3 separate regions of the Homo sapiens genome follow, and regions 2 and 3 are each linked to region 1. Evidence: promoter capture Hi-C in human tissues and cell types (Jung and others, 2019). All regions are on one chromosome and are shown on one strand. The core of a region is centred on a gene start or on the middle of the fragment in contact, and the rest is flanking DNA. Distances in the headings are between cores, read along the strand shown. Region 1 holds the start of CHAF1B (chromatin assembly factor 1 subunit B). Region 2 overlaps CBR3 (carbonyl reductase 3). Region 3 overlaps DOP1B (DOP1 leucine zipper like protein B).

Region 1 (4,048 bases), core at 678-3,177:
AGCCCCGGGTCGGGGCTGCACTGAGCCAAGATCAGGCCACTGCACTCCAGCCTGGGCGACAGAGTAAGACCCTGTCTCAAAAAAAAAAAAAAAACAAAACTATGCTTATTTTCAGAAAGAAAACTTAGTTTTTCTTTTGAAACATAAAATCAAAGAACTCCCTATCTAAAACATAAATGTCTACTGTCCCCCTCCGCCTTCTTTCTAGAGCAACTTGTTACCCAGTAGGAACCAGGATCAGGATCCCAAAACAATGAACGTCCAGTTACAATAATCTAGGGAAAATGAATCAAATAAGAAAGCAGAGCCGGGCATGGTGGCTCAGGCCTGTAATCCCAGCACTTTGGGAGGCCAAGGTGGGTGGATCACCTGAGGTCAGGAGTTTGAGACCAGCCTGGCCAACATGGTAAAACCCCATCTCTACTAAAAATACAAAAATTAGCCAGGTGTGGTGATGAGCGGCTGTAGTCCCAGTTATTTGGGAGGCTGAGGCAGGAGAATAGCTTGAACCTGGGAGACAGAGGTTGCAGTAAGTCGAGATTGCACCACTGCACTCCCACCTGGGCAACAGAGCAAGACTCCGTCTCAAAAAAAAAAAAAAGAAAGCAGCTCTCTTTTGCTTTCATTGTTCACCGCAGGCCCTGGAAATTTAGCATTCTGGGCTAGATGACAAAGTAGTTTAGTTTGTTGACATACGTTAATTCATTCATTCATTTACTTAAGAGAAGGGTCTGGCTCTGTCACCCAGGCTGGAGTGCAGTGGAGTGATCGTTGCTTGCTTCAAACTCCTAGGCTCAAGCGATCCTCTCACTTCAACTTCCCAAGTAGCTGGGCCTACAGCTGCACACTGCCACGTCCCGCTACTTTTTCATGTCTGGCTGTTGCCCAGGCTGGTGTCGAACTCCTGGACTCAAGCGATCCTCTCACCTCAGCCTCCCAAAGCACTGGGATTACAGGCGTAAGCCACCGCGCCCAGCCGACACTGGTTTTAAGTAAAAGAATGAAAACTATTGCTTCAAGCAGTGTTCCCGGATGTCTATCTCTGCCCCAGTTTACCCTGACATTGGTGTCCACGCCGGCAGACGCCAGTCTGTGGATCCTCCCAGCCGTCCCATGCTGGAAGTCCAGGCTGTACACGGGCTCCTTGTTGTGCCAGGCTATTTCACAAGTGATGACTTTCATCCTCCTGAGTCTCGAAGGGGAAAAACGTTTCTCGGGCACCGTTCTACTTCTTCAAGACAGGAGAAAGCTGCAAAATGCTGGTGATGGATTAAACAACAGTGTTAACAGCAGCAAAGGGTTATTGAGCGCTGAATAGGGGCCAGGAGCCATTTAAAATGCACACTGCATTGGGAAAGGATGTTAACGTTGCCATCTGACAATAACACCTTGCTAGCTCCACCTAAAATGCTTCGCTGGGTCCTGACATCCACAAGTTTATGATACGCCGCTACATCCAGAAAAGCAAAACGAAACACCCAGGTAAAGGCTACCTAGGGGCCCCGGCCGTCTGCACGGCCTGTCCCCGCTTAGTAGGGGCTAGGGGCGCGCCCTGAGAGCCCGGGGAGGGGCCCGCCCCGGGAGGAGCCTCCCGGAAGAGGGGGCCAAACGGGGTAGGGGACCGGGGCGGCGGGGCGAGAGGAGAACCCCGCCTTTCCCAGGGACCGGGCGCTGGGCCCGGGAAGCTGGGACTGAGGCCGCCGGGAGGAGGCCGCGCGGGGCCGGGGGTGGACGGGGCCCCGCCGCCCCAACGCGCGCCGCTCCGGAGCTATCCCGGGGCCCAGGGGCCCGCCCTCGGCGAGGGCCTCTGGCCCGGACCGACGCGACCAAAAGAGCCGCGGAGCTGCCCGGGCCAGGGAAGCCGTACCTGGAGGGACCCGGACAGTCAGAGGCACCGTCACCTCCCGCGCAGCGCGCGCCGCTTCCCGCGCGCCGCAGGCCCCGCCCCCGCATGGGCGGGACCTCATAGACGCCCCGCCCCTCCAGCGGCCCTCAGGTCCCGCCCGACGTGGGCGGTACCCCAGGGAAGCCCCGCCCACTCATAGACGCCAAGGCGAGTCCTGCTCTGGCCCTGGGGTCGGAATCCCGGCCGGAATTTATGCCTGCCAGACCCACGACCGAAGGAAGAATGGATTCATTATTATTTATTATTATTATCCATTACTTATTCCTTGTTGATTCGCTCTTTTAGCAAAGGTTTACAGAGCCTGGGCTGTGTGTTAGACAGACCCTATGCTGGCGCTGGGCACTTGGAGGGCTAACACAACCGGTTCTCTTGCCCCTTCTGCAAACAAAAACTGAGATTTTTGGGTTTTCTGTATTGGCTTCTAGAACATTTTGGAGAGTTCAAAGCTATGAAATTGTTCAGTACCTAGCGCAAGGTTGCTTACATTTTATTATTATAGTAGATGCAGTTATAAACCCTTTTTAAGAACAGACTAACATTTTAAAGTGAGGCTGTAAATCAGTCGGTAGGCAGAGATAGATACCTCAGGCTTTTCGAAATGGGACGTTTCCAAATGAGACCTAATTTATCTGTGGGCTTCGCAGAAGGCCAGGAAACAAGTACCTCTGGATGCGCTGCTTTTACTGGATAAAAGAAACACACAGGGTTATCTGAGGAGCCAACTGCTCTAGGATTTTTGGAAAAAAAGAACAGACATGGATTCTTATATAAATACCGGCTGATGCTTTTAGCCAGCTTTATGAAAGGTACAGAAATTGCCTACAAATCCGTGTCTCATGTTGATGAGAATGGCTGTATGCTCCTTGAAGCCTGATTTCTACAGGAAGCTAGAATAACATAATCCGGATATGCAGTTTTTAGATTTTTCTCTTCAGGATTTACAGAGCTTGGACTGGGAATGACTATATACTTTAGATAATATGGCTGTTCTAAAAGTACAGATTCCTGGCCCTACTCAGCCCCATGATTCCGAATATCCAGCAGAGGCCCGTGCTCCAGGGGCTTGCATTTTCATAAACTCCCCGGTGGGTGTGATCATCAGTCTGTTTTGGAAAGCTCTGGATTCTTCGTGTCTCTCAAACATAAAATTTCTCCAAATTTCTCATAAATGCTGTTCATTCACAAATGAATAATCTGCCCACCTCTTGAAGTGTCACGACTCTGAACTGTGGATTTAAAAGATAAAAACACATGCTTTAAGTATTAAAAGTACATGAAGGAGTTGGCTTTCTTGGCGAACATTTTAGAGATCCGACTTCAGTGCCAACTTGATGAGCCAACACGGGCAGGGGATGCGGCTCTAGAGAGAGGCCCTGGGCTGTCAAATATTTTCTCAAAAAAAAAAAAAAAAGTATTTGTTCAAAACCTCAAAGTTTGCACCACAAATGTTGGACTAAAGAATTCCTGCCGGTCGCGGTAGCTCACGCCTGTAATCCCAGCACTTTAGGAGGCCGAGGTGGGCGGATCATGAGGTCAGGAGATCGAGGCCATCCTGGCTAACATGGTGAAACCCCATCTCTACAAAAATTACAAAAAATTAGTCGGGCGTGGCGGCGGGCGCCTGTAGTCCCAGCTACTCGGGAGGCTGAGGCAAGACAATGGCGTGAACCCGGGAAGCGGGGCTTGCAGTGAGCCGAGATCGTGCCACTGCACTCCAGCCTGGGCGAGAGAGCGAGACTCTGTCTCAAAAAAAAAAAAAAAAAAAAAAAAGGGAATTCCTATAACGCAATTCTAACTAGATTCCTCAACAACCACTGTTGTTCAGCTTGGGCCCCAAGCATCCATTTTGAGCAGAACTGCCTCAATTTAAGGGGACCAATGTTATTTGGTTCCTGAGAACTTTTTAATAATGAAAATTGATATAAAGGGACTAACTCTTAACTCAGCTTCGAAAAAAAACTTCTCAAGGCATTTTAATTTCCATTTGTAAGTGTGAACATTCTAAAATCAAAATCTGAGCCGGGCATGGTGGCTCACATCTATAATCCCAACGCTTTGGGAGGCCAAAGCAGGCAGATTGCTTGAGGCTAGGAGTTCCAGACCAGCCTGGCCAACATGGCAAAACCCCTTCTCTATAAAAAT
Region 2 (4,048 bases), core at 883-3,382, 240 kb after region 1:
CCTAAGGACTAAAGCTCTCAATTTCCTAGGCACACCCAATGTCCTAGGACAGTGGGCAGCCACCCCAATTCCTTAGTGCCACAACCAGCAGTAAGGAATCCCTGGGGATGACTCTGTCTGTCCTTCATTATGGACACTTCACGTGTGGAATGGGCTGTTTTTCCATCCTGGTTTTTATCTCATCACTTTTTTTTTTTTTTTTTTTTTGAGACAGAATCTCACTCTGCCAGCCAAGCTGGAGTGCAGTGGCATGATCTCGGCTCACTGTAGCCTCCACTTCCCAGACTCAAGTGATCCTCCTGTCTCAGCCCCACAAATAACTGGGCCCACAGGCACACACCACTGCACTCAAATAATTTTTGTATTTTTCGTAGAAACGGGGTTTCTCCATGTTGGCCGGGCTGGTCGCAAACTCCTGAGCTCAGGAGATCTGCCTGCCTTGGCCTCCCAAAGTGCTAGGATTATAGGCGTGAGCCACTGCATCCGGCCTGATTTCATTACTTTTTAGTCCCTATTTGATAATATTAATATTCATTAAATTATGAATTAATATTCATGTTGATCATGATTCACAGCTACTAAAGAGACAATTGTGCCCATAGAAACAAATATGTAGGCCAAAAATTTTACAATTTGAAGTACTGGTGGAAATCCAAAAACCAGTAAATGTGTTAATTTACACATTTCATCAGCATCAAACCCCACTAATTTTAGTGAGTTCTTTTATTATGTATTATTCTGAATGCATATTCTCTGTGTCCAATAGGGTCTTTTTTTTTTTCTTTGAGATGAGTCTTGCTCTGTTGTCCAGGCTGGAGTGCAGTGGCGCGATCTCAGCTCACTGCAACCTCTATCTCGGGTTTAAGTGATTCTCCTGCCTCAGCCTCCCAAGTAGCTGGGATTACAGGTGTGCGCCACCATGCCCAGCTAATTTTTGTATTTTTAGGAGAGATGGGGTTTCACCATGTTGGCCAGGCTGGTCTCAAACTCCTGACCTCAGGTGCTCTGCCTTCCTCGGCCTCCCAAAGTGCTGGGGTTGCACGCATGAGCCACCGCACCTGGCCGGATCTGTAGATTTTATTTCATTTTCTGAATGGCATTCCCCACAAGTTCCCATTGCAAGGGAGCTGCACATTCTTGTGGACCCCAATCCCACAAGAGATACCCTCACTCTGTCCTTGGAAACTAGCACCTCACTCATCCCCCCAGGTACCTAGTACTATTCAGTATTTCTTTCCTTCCTTCTCTCTCTCACTTTCAAAGATGAAGTGTATGTATGTATTTCTTTCCTGTTACAGAGAAGTTACAAGAATAGTTCGATAAATACCCTATGCCCATCACCTAAGTTCACTAATTGTTAACATTTTGCTGTGTTTGCTTTTTCCCTCTCTGTCCCTTTTTCTCTCCAAGTTGCTGATATCATAAACCTTCATCTTAAACACTTTAGTATTATATATGGTAGCAAGGGCATTCCCCTACATTACTACAGTTATGACCACATGCCAGGCATTTATCATTATACAACACTATTATCTAAAATACAGCCCATATTCAAATGTGTCCAAATTGTCCCAGTAATGTTCTTTTACAGTTTTTGTTTGCTTTAATCCAGGGTCCAAAGTAGGATCATGGATTGCGTTTTTTTTTTTTTTTTTGAGATGGAGTCTCGCTCTGTCACCTAGGCTGGAGTGCAGTGGCGTGATCTCGGCTCACTGCAAGCTCCACCTCCCGGGTTCATGCCATTCTCCTGCCTCAGTCTCCCAAGTAGCTGGGACTACAGGCGCCTGCCACCATGCCTGGCTAATTTCTTGTATTTTTAGTAGAGACGGGGTTTCACCGTGTTAGCGAGGATAGTCTCAATCTCCTGACCTCATGATCCGCCCGCCTTGGTCTCCCAAAGTGCTGGGATTACAGGCGTGAGTCACCGCACCTGGCCCATGGATTGCATTTAATTGTCACATCTCTTTCATATATTTTAATGTAAGGTAGTTGGCAATGACTTTTTTGAAGACTGTAGACCATTATTTTGTAGTATTTCTCTCAAAGTGAATTGGTCTGTTCTCATGAGGAGAGTCACATCAATATTTTGGCCAGGAATACTACATCAGTGATGTTGTGTTCTTCATTGCTTTCTAAACAGCTTTGTTCTCAGAAACTTGGCGGCTACAAGGAATTAAATGTGAATGGGAAAGGAAGAAAGAAAAACACAGATCATAGAAGCTGTGCCTTCGAGGAAATAAATCCTCTTAAGGGGAGGAGGTGTCCTCTTTGATCTGAGGGCACACCTCTGGGAGAGAGGCCAGAGGCTGACAGTCAGCCTCGTCAGCCAGATGCGTCATCAGCCCTGGGAAGGGCTGCACCCACACCACCCTCCACTGAGGTCCAGGTGGCCCCACCGGTCCCGAAACACCTGCTGCCTTACTCTAGAAAGAGTAGGCAAGTTGCGCCCTCTAGTGGCTTAGTAGTTGCTTGTCCTATTGACTCAGAACCTTGAACAAATAAGCAAGTCAAATACAGATAGATGGTCCCTGCCCTCTGATGGTTCCACTTAGGACTTACTGACTTCACTGATGGATGAGGAAGCGATATGCATTCTGCAGAATCTGTACTTGGAGGCCCCATACAACCATTCTGCATTTCACTTTCAGTACAGATTCAATAAATTACATAAGATACTCAACATTTTATGATAAAATAGGCTTTGTGTTAGATGACTTTGCCAGACTATAGGCTAATGTAAGCGTTCAAAGCACCTTGAAGCTAGACGAGGCTGACCTATGGTGTTTGGTAGGTCAGATGCGTTAAATGCATTTTTTTTTTTTTTTGAGACAAGGACTTGCTCTGTCGCCCAGGCTAGAGTACAGTGGCACAATCATAGCTCACTGCAGCCTCAACCTCCTGGGCCCAAGCGATCCTCCCACCTCAGTCTCTCGAGAAGCTGGAACATGCCACTATGCCCAGCTAATTTTTAATTTTCATTTTTTGTGTAGAGCTGGGGTCTCCATATGTTGCTCAGGATTAAGTCCATTCTTATGATATTTTCTTTTCTTTCTTTCTTTCTTTTTTTTTTTTTTTTTTTGAGATGGAGTGTGGCTCTGTCGCCCAGGCTGGAGTGCAGTGGCGCGATCTGGGCTCACTGCAAGTTCCGCCTCCCGGGTTCATGCCATTCTCCTGCCTCAGCCTCCCGACTAGCTGGGACTACAGGTGCCCACCACCATGCCTGGCTAATTTTTTTGTATTTTTAGTAGAGATGGGGTTTCACCGTGTTAGCCAGGATGGTCTCGATCTCCTGACCTCGTGGTCTGCCTGCCTTGGCCTCCCAAAGTGCTAGGATTACAGGTGTGAGCCACTGTGCCCGGCCACAAAAACTTCTTAACCTAAAAAGGTGAATGGTGAGAATTGCACTTGTACTCTTGTACTTGCTCAGTTTTTTAGTGGGATGGGATCAGAGAAAGCCTGCAGGGAGAACTGCAGGTGCTCTGGAAGGGGATGGAGTTTTAAAGGTGTCTTAATACCTTGCAGCTCTCAAGTTCCCATTCAAAAATTTATCGGGAGAAAACTTCCCAACACTGGGTAAAAGACATCCCTATAATGGCTGCGTCCCTATATAGCCACAAAAAAGATAAAAGCTTTCTGACCAAACCTGGAGAGAGCCCCAGACATAAGGAGTAAAAAAAGCAAAGTGGCAAACATTGTATGAAATGTTACCTTCTGTGTAAAAAGGAGAGTTTTTAAAATGTGCGTTTATATTGGCTCAGATTTGCATTTAGAAACTCCATCCCCTTCAAAGCACCTGCAGTTCTCCCTGCAGGCTTTCTATGATCTCATCCCACTCAGAAACTGACAGAGTACAAGTGCAACTCTCACCATTCACCTTCTTAGGTTAAGAACTTTTTGCGTCTGAGTGCGGTGGCTCAAGCCTGTAATCCTAGCATTTTGGGAGGCCAAGGCGGGTGGATCACCTGAGGTCAGGAATTCGAGATCAAGCTGGCCAACATGGTGAAACCCTGTCTCTACTAGAAATACAAAAAAATTAGCTGGGCGTGGT
Region 3 (4,048 bases), core at 536-3,035, 140 kb after region 1:
TTCCAGAAATAAGCACCATTTAACTAATTTTATCAGGTAATCAATTTAAACCTGTAACATGGTCCTGATGTCACTCAGCACCCTCTGTTTTGCTACTTATGAATTTCTCTGTGTTCCCGCCACGTTTCTCGCTCTGTAAATCCTACCGCTCTCTCAGCCTGCAGTGCCCACCGTAGTTAAATCCTCTCCGCCTGGGGCCTCAGCTAAGCCATGCCGCCTCAGGAACCCCAGGTCAGGCCAGGCCTCCTGTTCACACACTCTCAGGAAACCCTGTGTTTCTTTGAAGCCCTGCTCACATCGTTATTACACTGCCAGTTAATGTCTGCCTCTGCCACAGGGGCAGGGACTTCATCTCTCTTGTCCACCGGTAAAGCAAGAGAGCCTGGTGCGTGGCAGCAGGCACAAAATGTCTGTCGAAGAGACGGATTTACCCAGCGCTTCCTGTGACAACCGCCCATGTTTATTTCACATTAGATACAACTGAGCCAGCAATGGAGCTGTCCCCTCTTTTCCACCATGGCTTCTGCTCTAGAGGGACTAATGTGGGGTCCCGCTCCCCGGCCCTGGGTTCCTCAGGGAGGGCTAGGAGTTAAGTGCCTAATGAGCATCGGCCTTTATCGTAATTACTCTTTCCCTCAACCCATGAGGACAGGATGCTAGCCACAGCCTGGTTTAACAGACGAGGAAATGGAGGCTCAGAGAGGCTGAGTGCTACAGGAAGCTCCCCTAAAAAAGGTTTAGAAAATCTTTTTTTCTGAGTGAGAAAAAAGGTTTTCTGAATCTTTTTAAGAGCAGGTTCTTATAGGAGCTTGAAATACAGAATTCCCTTGGCACCCTAGGAACCGACAGAATGTCTGGAGGCCAACAACGCACCGTGGTACCTAAATGCAGGATGGCAAGGCTCATCCCTGCGGCCACATCTGGCACCTGGGGGCTCTCAACTGATGTCAGATGTGGCAGATAATTCTGAGATGCCACACACAGTAACACAGATGGTGAGCGACCGAGTCCTGCGCCTACAGCCTTCTGAGGCAGACACTGAAAACCAAAGACTAAACTATAATATAAATATTCACAGTTGTGCGTTTTTGGTTTAAGAACTCAAAGGCACCCTGACATTCCACTCTGATGGGGCCATGTTTGACAGGCACCGCTAAAAGCAGAACAGAGATGAGCTGTCTCGCAGAAATGCTTTAGAGACTCAAGGCTGGGGTCTCTAGATCATTTAGAGGTGAGGATCTAGGTATCCCCGCTTTGAACCACTAGAGACTATTGTTTTTGAGACAGGGTCTCACTCTGTCACCCAGGCTTGAGTGCACTGGCGTGATCTCAGCTCACTTCAACCTCCACCTCCCAGGCTCAAGCAATCCTCTTGCCTCGGCCTCCTGAGTAGCTCGGACTACAGGTGCCTGCCACCATACCCAGCTAATTTTTGTATTTTTTGTAGAGATGGGGTTTCGCCATGTTGGCCAGGCTGGTCTTGAACTCCTGAGCTCAAGCAATCCACCCCATCTTGGCCTCCCAAAGTGCTGGGATTACAAGCATGAGCCACCGCGCCTAGCTCTAGAGACTTTATTTATTTTAATTATTTTTATTTTTTTTTGAGATGGGGTTTTGCTCTGTTGCCCAGGCTGGGGTGCAGTGGTGCAATCTTGGCTCACTGCAACCTCCGCCTCCCAGGTTCCAGCGATTTTCCTGCCTCGGCCTCCTGAGTAGCTGGGATTACAGACACGTGCTACCACACCTGGCTAATTTTTGTATTTTTAGTAGAGATGGGGTTTCACCATGTTGGCCAGGCTGTTCTTGAACTCCTGACCTCAGGAGATCCATCCGCCTTGGCCTCCCAAAGTGCTGGGATTACAGGTGTGAGCTACCATGCCCGGCCAAGACTTTATTTTTAACTACAAAATAAGGTGAATGGAAAATAAGAAGAAAACAGGCTGAAACCACTCAGACTCCTCCATTTCAGGTATAGGAAACTTACTGATAACAAATGAACTAGAGATTTCTACTTCTGATCTCTGACTTGGGTTTCATTGAGCACATCTGTTTATCATGCACACTTTCCTATACACATTTATTTTGGGTGGAACAATACAAGACCAAGTAAATGACAGAACTACAGAGACATCCTCTTACTTTGGTGGTTTTAAAGTAAACGGAAGAGGATCCCTTCGTGGCCCCTAGGAGATCGACAGGTCTCTTTTGAGTCTCCTCCTTTCTGAGAACATTCCAGAGAAGGGCCATGGTGTTAACAGTTCGAGGCAGCTCTTCCAAAATGGCATTTCTGGCATTCCTCAAGTTGGCAGGATCACCTGCAGCCATGGTCTAAAAATTAAAATGAATACATGAGGCAGGCTGTGTCTGTGGAATGGTTTTTCTTCCCACGAGGGCAGCAGTGCTAGCGGGATTAGGTCTGGGCTGTTGGACTCTCTTCTAAGCAACTCATACATGTGGTGGTCTGGGAGCAATAAGCTTCTCTGTGCATTTCAACCCATGGTTCTCTTTCACAGAGACAGCTGTGAGTCTGATGTTCTAAATTACAAACTTTTCAACCATTCAACCAAAGTGTTAGATGTATTCTAAGACTTAATCCCAGGGTATTCTACAGGGTAGAATAACCAACAGCTAAAATGTCTGCCTACTCAGATTTCATGAACACCATGATAGCAAGTAAAAAATACATGGAAAAAGATGACTATAAGCCTAAAATCAAACAAGTGGCTTTATAAGTTATCTCACAGGCTACTGATGGAACAATGGGCAAAGGGCTGGCACAGGGAGTGCCAGCAGGAAGAAAACTATGTTTGCATGGCTGACATACATACTTATGCATTTGCGTTAATTATATACATGCATTTGCATATGCATTTGCGTAGGCACTTGCATTGCTAACACACATGCATTTGCATACGTGTGTACGTGACTTATGTAATATTTGCATTCACATTTGCATCACCTCCATACGCATATTAGTTACAGACATTACATACATACGTTACTTATTTGAAACAGTCATAGCCCAAAGACAAAACAATACATGAAAATTGCCTTGAACTCAGGAAAAAAAAAAATTTACCTTTTTGTTTTGGTTGGCTTGTTCCAAAAGACAAAAATGACTAATGGTCGTTAGACCTTCTAGAAGGGTGAGTGGATAATCTGGAGAAATGTTTTCCCTCTTGGAGGTTGTGCTGTGGTGAAGAAAAGAGAAACTGGTTTGAGAATTTTTAAAGAATGAGGCCATAAGGGTTTCTAATCCTATATATAAACACAGGAACTAGGGAGAGATCACCATCCCAAATAAACTGGAGCTCTCGTCATAGAATATCATTATAATAATGTTAACCATCCTTTGTGTGATTTTACATTCATATAGTCACTTTGGAAAAATGGTTTCAATGTTTTAGAATTTCTGTGAAGATGATTCACATTTTTATTTCTGTTTTGCAAAAATAGTAGAGAGTAGCTGACATGCCCTGCAACACTGAGCTAGACTGGGTACCTGTGCGGATTTGAAATAAAGGATCAGGGCTGGGCGCAGTGGCTCCCTCTAGCACCCCAGCACTTTGGGAGGCCGAGGCAGGGGGATTGCCTGAGCTCAGGAGTTCAAGACCAGCATGGGCAACACGGTGAAACCCCGTGTCTACTAAAATACAAAAAATTAGCCAGATGTGGCGGTAGGCACCTGTAATCCCAGCTACTCGGGAGGCTGAGACAGGAGAATTGTTTGAACCTGGGAGGCAGAGGTTGCAGTGAGCTGAGGTCATGCCACTGCACTCCAGCCTGGGTGACAGAGACTCTGTCTCAAAAATAACATAACATAACATAACATAACATAACATAACATAACATAACATAACATAATGGATCAGAACATTTAGTTGCTTGTTACCCCTCTTGATAATGCTAAACAGGCTTCTCATTGGGATGAAATTATCCTCCAACCGACATCCACATCCGTGGCAAAACAGTCATTCGTTATAAAAACCATCACTAAAGCAATAAAGATGTCACAAGGAGCGTAACGCACCTGACAGAGAGCTTCACA

What was found. Contacts are between HindIII fragments. The study calls those that stand out against the background at their distance.
Region 2: a fragment that was not itself captured here is called in contact with the fragment with the promoter of CHAF1B in region 1 in 1 of the 25 tissues and cell types used here (spleen).
Region 3: a fragment that was not itself captured here is called in contact with the fragment with the promoter of CHAF1B in region 1 in 1 of the 25 tissues and cell types used here (spleen).

What each region holds. Positions count from the first base shown.
Region 1 is chr21:36,383,271-36,387,318 of GRCh38, reverse strand. It overlaps CHAF1B (chromatin assembly factor 1 subunit B), which reads right to left and starts at 1,927. Exons shown (of 14, transcript NM_005441.3): 1 at 1,868-1,927; 2 at 1,057-1,259. The coding sequence starts at 1,182. RefSeq lists enhancers at 475-974, 975-1,476 and silencers at 1,596-1,695, 1,726-2,095. The HindIII fragment of the contact is 18,705 bases long and covers 1-4,048 here.
Region 2 is chr21:36,140,039-36,144,086 of GRCh38, reverse strand. The region is part of intron 2 of CBR3 (carbonyl reductase 3); the gene reads right to left. All of the region lies in intron 2 of CBR3-AS1 (CBR3 antisense RNA 1), which reads left to right. Among named protein-coding and RNA genes, the nearest start is that of CBR3, 7.0 kb to the right of the region's middle. The HindIII fragment of the contact is 4,156 bases long and covers 55-4,048 here.
Region 3 is chr21:36,246,660-36,250,707 of GRCh38, reverse strand. DOP1B (DOP1 leucine zipper like protein B) reads right to left here. Exons shown (of 37, transcript NM_001320714.2): 19 at 4,031-4,048; 20 at 3,080-3,191; 21 at 2,140-2,328. Among named protein-coding and RNA genes, the nearest start is that of MORC3, 72 kb to the left of the region's middle. The HindIII fragment of the contact is 4,127 bases long and covers 1-3,848 here.